Linked DNA regions of Homo sapiens: region 1 is linked to region 2. Evidence: promoter capture Hi-C in 16 types of primary human blood cells and fetal thymus (Javierre and others, 2016). All regions are on one chromosome and are shown on one strand. The core of a region is centred on a gene start or on the middle of the fragment in contact, and the rest is flanking DNA. Distances in the headings are between cores, read along the strand shown. Region 1 overlaps SIDT1 (SID1 transmembrane family member 1). Region 2 holds the start of SPICE1 (spindle and centriole associated protein 1).

Region 1 (6,632 bases), core at 1,310-3,809, 110 kb before region 2:
GGTCAATGTAGAACTTCTCAGACACAGAGCTGCCAGACAGTGTGAGAGTGGAACCCAGATGCTGAGCTTGCCAACACCTTACTGGGGAGAGAATGTCAGGTGCAACCGAGAGACAACATTAGATTAGCTGTGCACTTTGCAAGAAGAGGGGAAGAGGACAATACGTTCATCCTGAGAGCTGCTTCTGAGAACCTCAGGGAAGAAGTCTAGAACCCTGATCTACATAAAGTGACAGATGACGGACTCGCTGTGGAGGACTCCTGAAGTAGTGTCCCTGATTAGAATGCTGATTTCTTCCCCAAAGGTGATGTGGGCACAGAACTGAGCTGTGTGAATGGGAGGCCAAATAAGCTCTGCTGAATTTGCTCTGGCAGCCCAAGTCCTTAAGGTGAGGCCTGTCTGGCTGCTGCTGCTGTTACCAGTCTTTTAGTATGGTTAGTCATTTCTCTTGTTCCTGCTGCTGTTAAAAGAGCTTTTCCTGTTTTTCCTTCTGCCTTGAAGCTGGCCAGACATCTGTGGAGTGACAGGGCCTTTCCAAGAAGGCAGAGTCAGAGTGATGAGGTCCACACAGGTCAGTGAGATGAAGACACGAAGGAATATGTAAGCACCCAGGACTCGGTCCCAGTGACAGTTACTTGTTAAGAGGAATGTGTGACAAACCCCACTCCTGAGCCCTTCTGATGGCATCAGAAACCTGGGGGAAATATACAGAGTTTCTTCTGGGAGGTGACTAGCTGGTGCCATTAAAACATCTATCCCAGTAGGGCAGGGCCTGGGGTCACCTCCCCGCCATATTCTAAAGAATCACATCCTCTTGCTGGAGCAGCAGGTGTTGCAGAGGTGTGAAGGGGGCCAACACAGTTTCTGGGCAGGAAGTCCAAGCTGCTGGCCTTTCTGGGCAGGGTGACAACTGGAGGGAAGTGTGCAGCAGCATTCTGCCATTGCTGGCAAGTCTCCGTGAGGGTGGGAGGGACCCCAAGATGGTGAGTTGACTTGGATGCAGTGCCTATCCCTGTTGCACTCCCAAAGCTGCAGATGGAAGGAGCAAGTGTTTCTCAGCTCCTCAGGTTTGCGTCTGTCCTCAAAACATGGCTCCCCTTCTGCCTCCTTTCTTGCAGGTTTAAATCTCCCGCAGCCCCTCTCCTTCCTGTGTGAATGCAGAGTTGGCTCTACAGAGGGTGAGTGGAGCATCTGGCAGTGGTTACTTTGCTGTGGTCACTGTAATTTTTGTGAAACAGCACCAAGATTGATCGCTCCCTCCCCTCTCTTAATGTTGGAGGTTCAGAAGACAGGGATCTGGTCTCTCCGAACCACATCAAGGTCATCATCCAAAGTTAACAAAACCTGAAGTGAGAGGGACAGAGAAATGAAAGGAATGGACAGTCACTGTCACACTAAGTCCTGTTTTCTCTCTGAGATGCACACAGACTGGAAACTGTTAGTTCCCTCTCATTCTCATGCCTTCTGCAGCTCTCTGCAATCCTTTGCTCTTAATAGGCACTTATTATAATTATACAATTCATTTGTCAATTAAATATTCATGAAGGTTTATGATGTGCTATTCCAGATGCTATGGAGATATAGTTGGTAATGAAAGAGACAAAAATCCCTATTCTCCATGTAGCTTACATTCTAAAGAGGGCTTTAGACGTGAAACAAATACATGAGTAAAATATAGCATGTTAGATAGTAATAAGTGCTAAGGATAGAAGTTAAATAAGGGAGGAAATACAGGAAGTATCAGGTGTGGGGAGGTAAAAAATTTTGATAGGGTGGCCTGGGAAGTCATTACTTAGGGGACATTTAGGTCAAGAGTCAAAGGAATAAAGTCCTGTTGGATAGAGTATTGCTATATAAGAAATGTACCCTCCTCCTCCATTTCTAGTTCATTTGACTACTACTGCCCCACGTGGAATCTTTAGTTCCACTTTTGCTGTCTCTGTCTCTCTCATGAAGGTGACGATCAAAAGTAAAAGACGTAAGGACTGTTTATACAGATTGGCCAAGCTTCCCAAACTGGCCACTAGAGGATAGCCCTGCTCCACTCTTGAAGTCATATGGCCTGCCTGAGCCCGCTTTGCGTGGAGCCCGGGCATCTAGTAGGTCTGGAGCCCGGGAGTCTAGTAGGGTTGTTAATTGTCAATTGAACCTGCCTACAGGCACCATGGACTTTTAATTGGGAAAAATCAAAGTTAGGATTAAAGGATGGAACTATAATCCAGGGTTGATATAAATACTCATGGCTTCTGAGAAAGGGTTGGGGCAAAAAAATAGAGAAACTACAGGAGAGATTTGGGACAGACTGGTCAGAAGGCAACAGACACGTGGCTGCTACCCCAAGCCACTTAAGGAATATGTAAAATATTTGTGAAATATTCAGGGAGACTGGAGGAGGAGGAGGAGGAGGAGGAATGTGAGTATGGCATAAGAAGGAATAACCCAATGTTATCGGAATTGCTAAAAGTGGTTCCTGGGGGAATTCTGGGCATGTGGGTCTAATAACCAATTCAGAACAAACGTGCTGTGCAACTTAGGGAAAGTAATTTTGTCCCTCTGTGTCTAAAGATATTGAAGAGTAAAAGAAAAACTAAAGATCTAACCAAAGGATATAAAATTTATGAAAGAAATAAGATGGTCTGTACATTGAATTACAAGGAGGAAATGGAAAGTAAAATTAGAGAGGAATATAAAAAAAAGTAAGGAAGAGCAGAAGAAAAAGAGAGTACAAGATGTAAAGAGAGAAGAAAGTCACAAAAAGATAGATATGAACTCACCAAGAATGAGAAAAACAGAGCAGTAGCAGAGAGGAAGTGCCAGATGTCATGGTCATCGAAGAAATCCAGCAGAATGCACTCGCGGTTCTTCTCCCGGGATTCGGCCGGAGTTCCCTGGAGGAAGGTGAGGCAGGACATGGGCAAGATTCCCACAGTTCAACTGTTCAAAGAGTTGAACGTCCAGAAAGCCACAAAAACGCTACTAGATGTCTGGTTCGAAAAGTTAGCTTCCAAGAAAACATCCATCCACACAAAAACCTGTACACAAAGACCTCAAAAGCACAGGCAACCAAAGCAAAAATAGAGAAGCGAGATTACATCAAGCTACGAAGCTTCTGCACAGCAAAGGAAATGACGAACAAAGTGAAGAGACAACCCACAGAATGGGAGAAAATATTTGCAAACTATCCATCTGACAAGAAATTAATAACCAGAATATATAAGGAGCTGAAAGAACTGTAAGGGAAAAAAAATCCAATTTAAAAATGGGCAAAAGATCTGAATAGACATTTCTCAAAAGAAGACATACAAATGGCAAACAGGCATATGAAAAGGTGCTCAACATCATTGATCATCAGAGAATGCAAATCAAAACTACAATGAGATATCATCTTACCCCTGTTAAAAAGGCTCGTATCAAAAAGACAGGCAATAACAGATGCTGGCGAGGATGTGGAGGAAAGGGAACTCTCACACACTGTTGGTGGGAATGTAAATTAGTACAGCCACTGTGGAGAACAGTTTGGAAGTTCCTCAAAAAACTAAAAATAGAGCTATGGCCGGGTGTGGTGGCTCACACCTGTAATCCCAGGACCATGGGAGGCAGAGGCAGGTGGATCGCCTAAGGTCAGGAGTTTGAGACCAGCCTGGCCAACATGGTGAAACCCCGTCTCTACTAAAAATACAAAAAAATTAGCTGGGCACGGTGGTGGGCGCCTGTAGTCCCAGCTACTCAGGAGGGTGAGGCAGGAGAATCACTTGAACCTGGGAGGTGGAGGTTGCAGTGAGCCGAGATTGCGCCATTGCACTCCAGCCTGGGAGACAGAGGGAGACCCCGTCCCCCCGCCCCCCCAAAAAAAAGAAAGAAAGAAAAAAATAGAGCTACCATATGATCCAGCAATTCTACTACTTGATATATATCCAAAAGAAAAGAAATCAGTATGTCAAAGAGTTATCTGCACTCCCATGTTTATTACAGCACTGTTCACAATAGGCAAAATATGGAATCGATCTAAGTGCCCATCAACAGAGGTATGGACAAAGACAATATGATACACATATCTACATAGACAATGTACATACACCTACAAACACAATAAAATACTATTCAGCCATAAAAAAGAATAAAATCCTGCCATTTGCAGCAACACGTATGGAACTCGAGGCCATTATGTTAAGTGAAATAAGTGAAGCACAAAATGACAAATATTGCATGTTCTCACTCATATGAGGCAGCTAGAAAAGTGGATCCCGTGAAGACAGAGAATAGTTTGGTGGTTACCAGAGTCCAGGAAGGGTGGGGGGAGAGGGAGATGAGGGGAAAAACCAAAGAATATACATGTATTTATGACCACTGAACTGCACATTTTAAAATGGTAACGATGGTAAATTTTATATGTATATTTTACCTCAAGGAAAAAACTTGTACACAAATATTCACAGCAGCATCACTCATAATGACACAAAAATAGAAACAATCCAACTGTCCATCAACTGATGAGCAGGTAGATAAAATGTGATATATCAGTACAACGGAATATTTTTCAGCAATGAATAGACATGAAGTACTATGTATGTTACAGCATGCTTGAACCTAGGACACATTAAGTGAAAGAAGCCAGACACAAAGGCCGTGTATTGTGTGATTCCATTTACATGAAATGTCCAGAATAAGCAAATATACAGAGACAAAAGGTAGATTTAGTAGTTGCTTAGGGGTAAGGGGTTAGCGAGAAATGAGGAGTGAATGCTGATGCATATGAGGTTTCTTTCCGGAGTGACAGAAATGTTCTAAAATCTATTGTGGTAACTGTTCTGATGGAATGCTAAGACTTCTTCCTGTTCTGTGCCTCAGATATACCACTAATTTCCTAGGCTTCGGCTCTGTTATCTATGGACTGGATGTAATGACACTCAGCTTGGGTATTTGTTGATGGATGGAGATTATGAGAAAGATGAGAAGATGAACTACTCAAGGCTTTTGACCGCGTTAAGCATCCACTGGGACCAGCGTCGTAATACAACATGCAATGAAGACCAAGTTTGCAATGTCTGTAGTACTTACAGATTTATAAAGTGCCACCCTGAGAATGATAACGCATGCAGTTATTGTGCATTTGTGTGCGGCTATTAAAAACCATCCCTGGTAGAGAAAACTTTCATTTTAGACACTGTGAAAACACATTAAGAGAGGGAGGTAGAAAGGCCAAAATGGCAAGTTGGAGAGAGAGGTTGTTTTTGGATAAGAAAACTGGCCTCTTACCTCCCAGCTGCTGAGATTCTGGAAGAAAAAATATAGGGCGGCAGCCCACATCACAGCGGTGGCCACGATGCAGAAGAGCGGGACTGGGAGGACCTTTTCAGAGCTGCGGAGCTGTGGGAGGAGAAGCAGATGCGGCCTCACGCGACCCCGCCTTCGCCTGCCCGAGGGCCCGAGGTAGCCGCTCCCGGCACCCGCTCTTACCTTCATGATGATGTAAAAGGCCAGGTACAGCAAAAGGTTACAGATGAAGATGCCCAGCATGTAGGAAGCAAAGTCCCTGGGGCGGTATATCAATCCAAAGAGGGCGCTGCAGGCGTGGGAGAAATGTGGGCAGCCGTGAAGGTGGATTTGTAACACTATTGGCTTTTCCAATCCCCCAGTCCCTTGAGGGGGAAGGGGCAGGTTCTTTTTTTTTTTTTAACTTTTATTTTTAGTTCATTTTATTTTTTTTTAAACTCTTACCTCTGATGGAACAGTAGATTTTTAAAAAAATACTTTAACATATAAGTATCTTTTTTTTTTTTTTTTTTTTTTTTTTTTTAAGAGTTGGGGTCTCATTCCCTCACTCAGGCTAGAGTGCAATGGCACCATCACGGCTCACTGCAACCTCCACATCCTGGACTCAAGCGATCCTTCCACTTCAACCTCTCTGGTATCCGGGACTACAGATGCATGCCACCACTTCCAGCTAACTTTTAAAATTTTTTTTGTAGAGGCAGGGTCTTGCTATGTTGCCCAGCCTGATGTTGGATTCATGGCCTCAAGCCATCCTTTTGCCTGAGCCTCCCAAAGCCCTGGGATTACAGCCGTGAGCCATGGTGCCTTGCCTATATAAGTAACTTTTAATTTAATACACTTTCTTCCAAGCATTCATTTCTAACAACCATGTAAAGTTCCCATAACTGAATGCAATGTAAACAATCATCTTTCCCCTTTTGTTGAAGTGTCTTCCCACATTCTTCGGTTTTTCACTATTATAAGAAACACTGCAATGAATAAATAAATACTTTCAGACATTGAGCTTATGTTTTTCATTTAAGATTAGTTCCTTAGAATAGAAGCAAAATCATCTCCATGATTGGCTTGACACACATTACCAAATTTTTGCTAGCTGTCCATGGTTTTAAAATTAATGCTAAAGTTAATTTTGGTTGGACTCAGCTTTAATTTTGTTCCAAATTTCTATTCAGTTATAATATGTCCTTTATTACATAATTCTTTCTTATCTCTTTGTTTTGAAATAGTTTTTTTTTTTTTTTTTTTTTTTTTTGAGATGGAGTCTCACTGTGTTGCCCAGGCTGGAGTGCAGTGGCACCATCTCGGCTCACTGCAACCTCCACCCCTCCAAGTTTAAGCAATTCTCTGCCACAGCCTCT
Region 2 (6,690 bases), core at 2,384-4,883:
TCCTGTGTCTTCACATAGCAGAAGGGCAAAACGGGCAAAAGGGACAAACAGGCTTCCTAAAAGACTCTTTTTTAAGGGCACAAATCCCATTCATGATGAGCAGAGCCTTCATAATCTAATCACCTCCTTCCTGAAAGCCCCACCTTTTAATACTATCACATTGGCAAATTGTCACATAGAAAGTTTGTGGGGACACATTCAGACCATAGCAATGGCTTGTTTAGAAGTGTATTTTATTCCCCAAATTTTGAGGGATTTTCCAAGAATCAGTCTGTTATTGATTTCTAATTTAATTACATTGTGGTCAGAGAATGTATCTTGCATGACTTCAATCCTTTTGAATTTGTTAACATTTGTTTATGGTCCAGATTATTGTCCATCTTCTAAACTTTCTGTATATGCTTAAGAACCATGTGTATTCTGCCAATTATTGGAGTGTTTAATAAATGTCAATCAGGTCAAGATGGTTGATAGTGTTGCTCAAGTCTCTTATAACCTTGTTGATTTTCTGCTTATTTGCATTATAAATTATTCAGAAAGGGGCATTGAAATATTTGACTATTGTGGATCTTTCAATTTCGCATTGCAGTACTATCAGTTTCTGCTTCATATATTTTTAAGTCCTGTTATTAGATGCAAAAATGTTTAGGATTGTTATGACCTTTTGATTAAATGGTTCTTTTATTATTATTAAATGATCTTCTTTATCTCTGGTTATATTCTCTGCTCTGAACTCTACTTTGTTTAAAATTGATAAAGTCACTCCACTTTATTTTCACTAGTGTTAGCATGATATATCTTTTTTCCATCCTTGTATTTTAAACTTATTTGTGTCTTTATATTTAATGTTTCCCTTCTTATAAGCAGCAATTTAAAAAATTCAAGATTTTAAACAATCTCTGACAATCTGACAATCTCTGCCTTTTATTCAGTGTGTTTAGACAATTTACATTTAATATGATTTATGAGTCTATCATCTTGCAATTTCTTTCCTACTTCTCTCTTTTCTTTGTTTTTTCTTGTTTTATACTTTTAGATTAATCAAGTATTTGTTTCGTTATCCTTTACATGACTTTTGTAAGCTTTTAACAATAACTTTTATTATTTAGTGGCGGCTTTAGGGTTTATAGTATACATCTTTATTTTATCATAGTCTACCTTTAAGTGGTATCAGGAATAGTATAAGGGTCAGGCGCGGTGACTCACACCTGTAATCCCAGCACTTTGGGAGGCCAAGGCGGGCAGATCACCTGAGGTCAGGAATTCAAGACTAGCCTGACCAACATGGAGAAACCCCGTCTCTATTAAAAATACAAAAATTAGCTGAGTATGGTGGTGTGTTCCTGTAGTCCCAGTTACTCCGGAGGCTAAGGCAGGAGAATTGTTTGAACCTGGGAGGTGGAGGTTGCAGTGAGCCGAGATCGTGCCACTGCACTCCAGCCTGGGTGACAGAGTGAGACTTTGTCTTAAAAAAAAAAAAAAAAGGAATAGTATAAGGATTCTAGGTTGATAGCTTTTTTTCTTTGAATATGTTTGAACTGTTATTCTGTCTTCTTGCTTGTTTTGATTCTAATGAGAAACTGATGTAATCCTTAGTTTTGTTCTGCTGTATACGACATGTATTTTTTTCCTTGGATGCTTTTAAGATTCTTTTATCACTCGTTCTGAGCAATTTGATTATGAAGTATTTTGATTAGCTTTCTTCATATTTCTTATGCTGAGCTTCTGAAGGCAGGTCTGTGGGTAAAGATAGTGACAGAAGGATTAAAATAATGATGGGAGCTTAGGGAAGTTCTCTTTTGAATAATTCAGTGTAATCAATGCAGTAGGAAGCAAGGTCATTGTGTGAGAATGAGGATAGGAGACAAGGCATTGGGTATGAATGAAGGTATAAAACTAATATGTAGGAAAATCAATGAACAGGGACCTGTAATGAGATGTTCAAGCATCTTTAAGGTCCTACTTAACATCAGTAATCATGAATTTAAAGTCAGCATGATTGGGTGTTTTTTTTCAGATTCAGCTGCATGGGTGCAAGCACTTAGTAAGTGTAAAGTAGGGATGGCTAATATGGTCATTTTGCCAAGTGATTACAGCAATTTAGAGAGGGGCAGGGAGTTGAGGATGCAAGCAAGTGGATGATTGTTGATTATTAAATATATCTACATCAAACTTCCTCAATCAGAGTGAAAACTATTAAAGGCAGTACCTTTCCTCTAGAAGGTTTTGGGCATGTATTTGCAGACCACACATGGGTGTATTGTAACAGCAGAAAGCAAGGGGCTAGAGGAAATTGTCTTACCAGAGCAAATAAACTCTGTTTTTGAATCAAGTGCTTTGTAAAGTTCTTAACGTGGTCCACGCAGCTCTGACTGTCGTGGATCCAGCCTATCAGGGCGCCTCCCCTTCACAGCAAGTTCCCACTGTTCTCTAAACTTCAGACACACTGGACCTCTTCCTGTCCCTTGCATTTTCCACATCTTTGCACATGCAGCTCCCTCTGCAGGAATGCTTTCCCCTTCCCCACTGGCCTATTCATGTCTGAGCTTTCCTGAGTAATTCAAATATTACTATAATAATAAGCTAAGTATTTGGTTAGAGTGCTTCCTTCTTAGCACTCGTCATAATTTTAATGTTTTTGTCATTGATAACTGTCTGTTAATATGCTGTAAGTTTCCCACCTTGCCTGTTTTTAGCCCCATAGAACCTAGCTCTCCCGCACATTTGTAGGTTGTAATAAACAACTTTTTTTTTTTTTTTTGAGACAAGGTCTTGCTTTGTCGTCCAGGCTGGAGTGAAGTGGTATGACTGTGGCTCACTACAGCTTTGCCCTCCTTGGCTCAAGCGATCCTCGCACCTCAGCTTCCTGAGTAGCTGGAACTACAGGCGTGTTCCCACGCCCAGCTAATTTTTTAATTTTTCGTAGAGACGGGGTTTCGCCATCTTGCCCATGCTTGTCTCAAACTCCTGAGCTTAAGCAATCCTTCTGCTTCTGTCTCCAAAAGTGCTGGGATTCCACTACTAAAGATTTGTAAACAAATGAATAGAGATGAAAGCAAATTAAGTGATATGTGAAGTCTGGTGAGGAGAGCAACATCTTTCTTTTGGAGAATTCTCGAGGCACCGGCTAATGCTATATGCCTATTCTTTTTTTTTTTTTTTTTTTTTTGAGACGGAGTCTCGCTCTTTCGCCCAGGCCGGACTGCAGTGGCGCCATGTCGGCTCACTGCAACCTCCACCTCCCAGGTTCACGCCATTCTCCTGCCTCAGCCTCCCGAGTAGCTGGGACTACAGGCGCCCGCCACCTGGCCCGGGTAATTTTTTGTATTTTTAGTAGAGACGGGGTTTCACCGTGTTAGCCAGGATGGTCTCGATCTCCTGACCTCGTGATCCGCCTGCCTCGGCCTCCCAAAGTGCTGGGATTACAGGCGTCAGCCACCGCGCCCGGCCTGCTATATACCTATTCTTTAATAATTTGCCCTGAACCTTGCAGAGGAACCTCTCTCCCTTAGACTCAGGACCCGAGATAGGCTTTGGGAGGCGCCTGCGCACTGGGCTCGCCGGATATACGCAAGGGCGTGGGGCGGAGCTCTGGTAACCCAGGCAACAGCCCGGAAGCCGCTGGCTGGGTTAACCTGTGGCGCGCTCCGCGGTTCCGGCGCCTGAAGTTTTAGCTGCGGTGGCGGCGGCAGTCGGGACCGACTGCAAGGCAGGTTGAGATGATGGATCTGAGGCTTGCAGCTCGCAGTCCCAACGAGCCTTAGGGACCAGGGCTACCAAAAGGGTGGGGAGAACGGTGGTGGCATCTGTCTGTTGCCTGGGATCCAGGCGCCCGGTTGGGGAATCCTTACTTCAGGAAGCGCAGCCGCGGCTCTGTGTTTTGAGAGTGCAAGTACGTGTCAGGGTGCGTGTCTGGGTATGTTTGTGCGTGGCGCCAGAGCACCTCGAGTATGCGCGTGCGCACCGCTTTCGGGAGCTTTTGCACAGAGCTGGTAATTGGGGGTGCTCGATTGTAGCGTTGGGGGAGTTCACCGTGTAGCAGGAGAGAGGCAAACTATCCAGGGTGCTTTGGGACCGGGAGCGTCATTTAAATCGATGGATGTCAGAGGGGCTTCTCAGAAGGCTCCTCCTGTGAGTTTTGAGGAGTCCGTGGAAGTTAACCCAGTAGAGAAGAGAGTGAGCCTAATGAGTGTTCCAAGCAGAGGGAAAAGAATGGTTGCAACTGTGTGTGAGGCGAGAGCTTGGTTTTAGGATTTGCGGGAGATGTGAGAGAACACTGGAAAGAAAAGTCAGCCGGGCCATATGGGGGAGAGGGTCTGAATGCCAAGCTGAGTTGGATTGCTTTTGACAGTGGGGAGCCATCCGAATCTAGAGGAAGTAGGTAAAGGGTTCAGATCTATTCTCTATCCATGTATTTAGGTAGGATTGATTCAACAGTGTTTGGAAAGAGTTCTTGTTTCTCTTTGATCAGTTTTCCACACCAGTCAGAGTGGATTTACTAAGTCCAGTCATAACTATCCCTTTTAAAATTCTTCAGTGGTTTCCTATGGTCTTAGGTGTTCAGATTGCTGTGGCTCACAAGACTACAATCTGCTGTCTGCCTTTCTTCCTTTAACCTCTCACCCTCTCAGATCTTTGTTAATTGAACTGAACTTCTCAAACTCTTCGTAAATGCATTTTCCCTTGCCTGGAATATTCTTTCCCCTGCTTCTAACTTTTATTCGTATTTTAGCTCTCAGTGCAAACATTTTTGGGGGTATTACAGAGAGGAGAAGCTTTTACTTACTGCATAGAGTTAGTTAGGTACTTTCATGGCACACAGAATTTACTTCCCATGCTGCCCTTTTGTTGTAAATACTTGTTTAATTGCGGTCCTCTTAGAAACTCTTAACTCTGCAAGGGCATAGACTATTCTACTTTCTTGTTATATCTGGTGCCTCGCTTTTAGATGGTGCTTCAAAATATTAGTTACATTAATAGATGGATGATGAAGTCAGTGAGTGAAGAGTGAAAGGGAGACTAATTAGAATAATGAGAGCCTGAACAAAAATATTTTTAGTAGAGATGGAGAAGAGCGGGCAAGAGAGATTTTTAGGGAAAAAGTTAATAGATTCTGTTATCTGATTCACTAAGAGATAAGGAACAGAGGTGATGCTGAGGTTTTAAATTGGAGCAACTAGGATTGTAATTCTGTAAATTCAGCTTAATTGAACATATTTATCGAGTCAACCAGTTATATATCAGCAAGTAGAGATTTGGGGTATGATGATGAGCTGTATTTTGATATACTGTATTTGTGATATTTGGGAGATGTATATAGTAGGTAGTTAGAAATGAGCATTTGGTGTTTTTGTTTTGTTTTTGTTTGTTTATTTTAAGAGACAGAGCCTCACTTTGTCACCTAGGCTGGAGTGCAGGGGCGCCATCGTAGCTCACTGCAGCCTCCAATTCCTGGGCTCAAGCAGTCCTCCCACCTCAGCCTCCTGAGTAGCTGAAACTATAGGCACTCACTGCCACTCCTGGCTAATTAAAAAAAATTTTTTTTTTAGAGACAGGGTCTTGCTATGTTGCACAGGCTGGTCTTGAGCTTCCTGCCTCAAGCGATCCTCCAGCCTCAGCCTCCCGAGTTGCTGGGATTACAGATGCGAGCCACTGTGTTTGAAGTTTTGAGGAAAGGTGTGAATCATTGATTTGGGACTCATTTTCACAGTGTGTTTGTTTGTCCATACATTCATAGCTTTGCTCAAGGGAGTTGGTGAGGTCACTGAGGGAGGATGTGAACTGCCCCTTTGTGATCAAGAAAGCAGCTCCATGAGAGCTGGCACCATATTAGACTTGTTTACTAATATCTTAGTTTATTTAGTTTACTTAGTTTACTTGTTTACTTGTATCTCTAATGCCTAGCCAGTGCCTGGTGTGTGCTGCACTCCCCCAAATAATTATTGAATGAAAGGAGAGGGTATCTAATGGAAAGACAAGAAGAATGAGAACTGAGATAGAACTGGGTGGAAATCCTTGATTAAATTGTTTGTGTGGAGGAGGACAATAGAGCCTGTGAAGAAAAGGAGAAAAGAATAGAAGAGGCCAGGTGTGGTGGCTCACGCCTGTAATCCCAGCACTTTGGGAGGCCAAGGCAGGTAGATCACGAGATCAGGAGTTCGAGACCAGCCTGACCAACATGGTGAAACCCCGTTTCTACTAAAAATACAAAAGTTAGCCGGGCATGGTGGCAAGCGCCTGTAATCCCAGCTATTCAGGAGGCTGAGGGAGGAGAATCGCTTGAACCCGGGAGGTGGAGGTTGCAGTGAGCTGAGGTCGTGCCACTGCACTCCAGCCTGGTAACAGAGCAAGACTCCGTCTCAAAAAAAAAAAAAAAAAAAAAAGAAAGCTTTTCAGTGCAAAGGTGGGGTCAGAGTTTTTGTAATTAATAAAACTTGGAGGTAGAACTAAGGATTAGTAAATACAGGTGCTAAAGTGTACCTTTTCATGAAGCTGGATGGCAAGAGAAGGGCAAAGATGGGATAGCAGCTTAACTATACCTGTGTTATCCTACTGTACACAGGTAGTAAATTACCACAGATTTAGTGGCCTAAAACAATTACTATTTATCATTTCACAATTTCTGTGGGTTGTGAGTTTGGACATGGCTTAGTTAGATTCTTTGCTTAGGGTCTTCCAAAGCTGTAATCA

The links. Contacts are between HindIII fragments. The CHiCAGO score rates a contact against its expected background, and 5 or more counts as called.
Region 1: a fragment that was not itself captured here is called in contact with the fragment with the promoter of SPICE1 in region 2 in 1 of 17 cell types (M0 macrophages); the score reaches 7.5 in M0 macrophages.

What each region holds. Positions count from the first base shown.
Region 1 is chr3:113,622,358-113,628,989 of GRCh38, reverse strand. It overlaps SIDT1 (SID1 transmembrane family member 1), which reads right to left. Exons shown (of 25, transcript NM_017699.3): 22 at 5,458-5,563; 23 at 5,257-5,367; 24 at 2,775-2,888; 25 at 1-1,344. The coding sequence ends at 1,282. LOC124909410 (a long non-coding RNA gene) reads left to right here and starts at 5,557. Exons shown (of 2, transcript XR_007096007.1): 1 at 5,557-6,632. RefSeq lists a silencer at 1,937-2,036. The HindIII fragment of the contact is 1,099 bases long and covers 2,010-3,108 here.
Region 2 is chr3:113,512,099-113,518,788 of GRCh38, reverse strand. It overlaps SPICE1 (spindle and centriole associated protein 1), which reads left to right and starts at 3,633. Exons shown (of 18, transcript NM_144718.4): 1 at 3,633-3,892. It overlaps SPICE1-CFAP44 (SPICE1-CFAP44 readthrough (NMD candidate)), which reads left to right and starts at 3,633. Exons shown (of 52, transcript NR_183050.1): 1 at 3,633-3,892. RefSeq lists enhancers at 2,291-2,340, 2,401-2,450, 2,961-3,010, 3,717-3,766, 3,827-3,946. The HindIII fragment of the contact is 3,693 bases long and covers 1,085-4,777 here.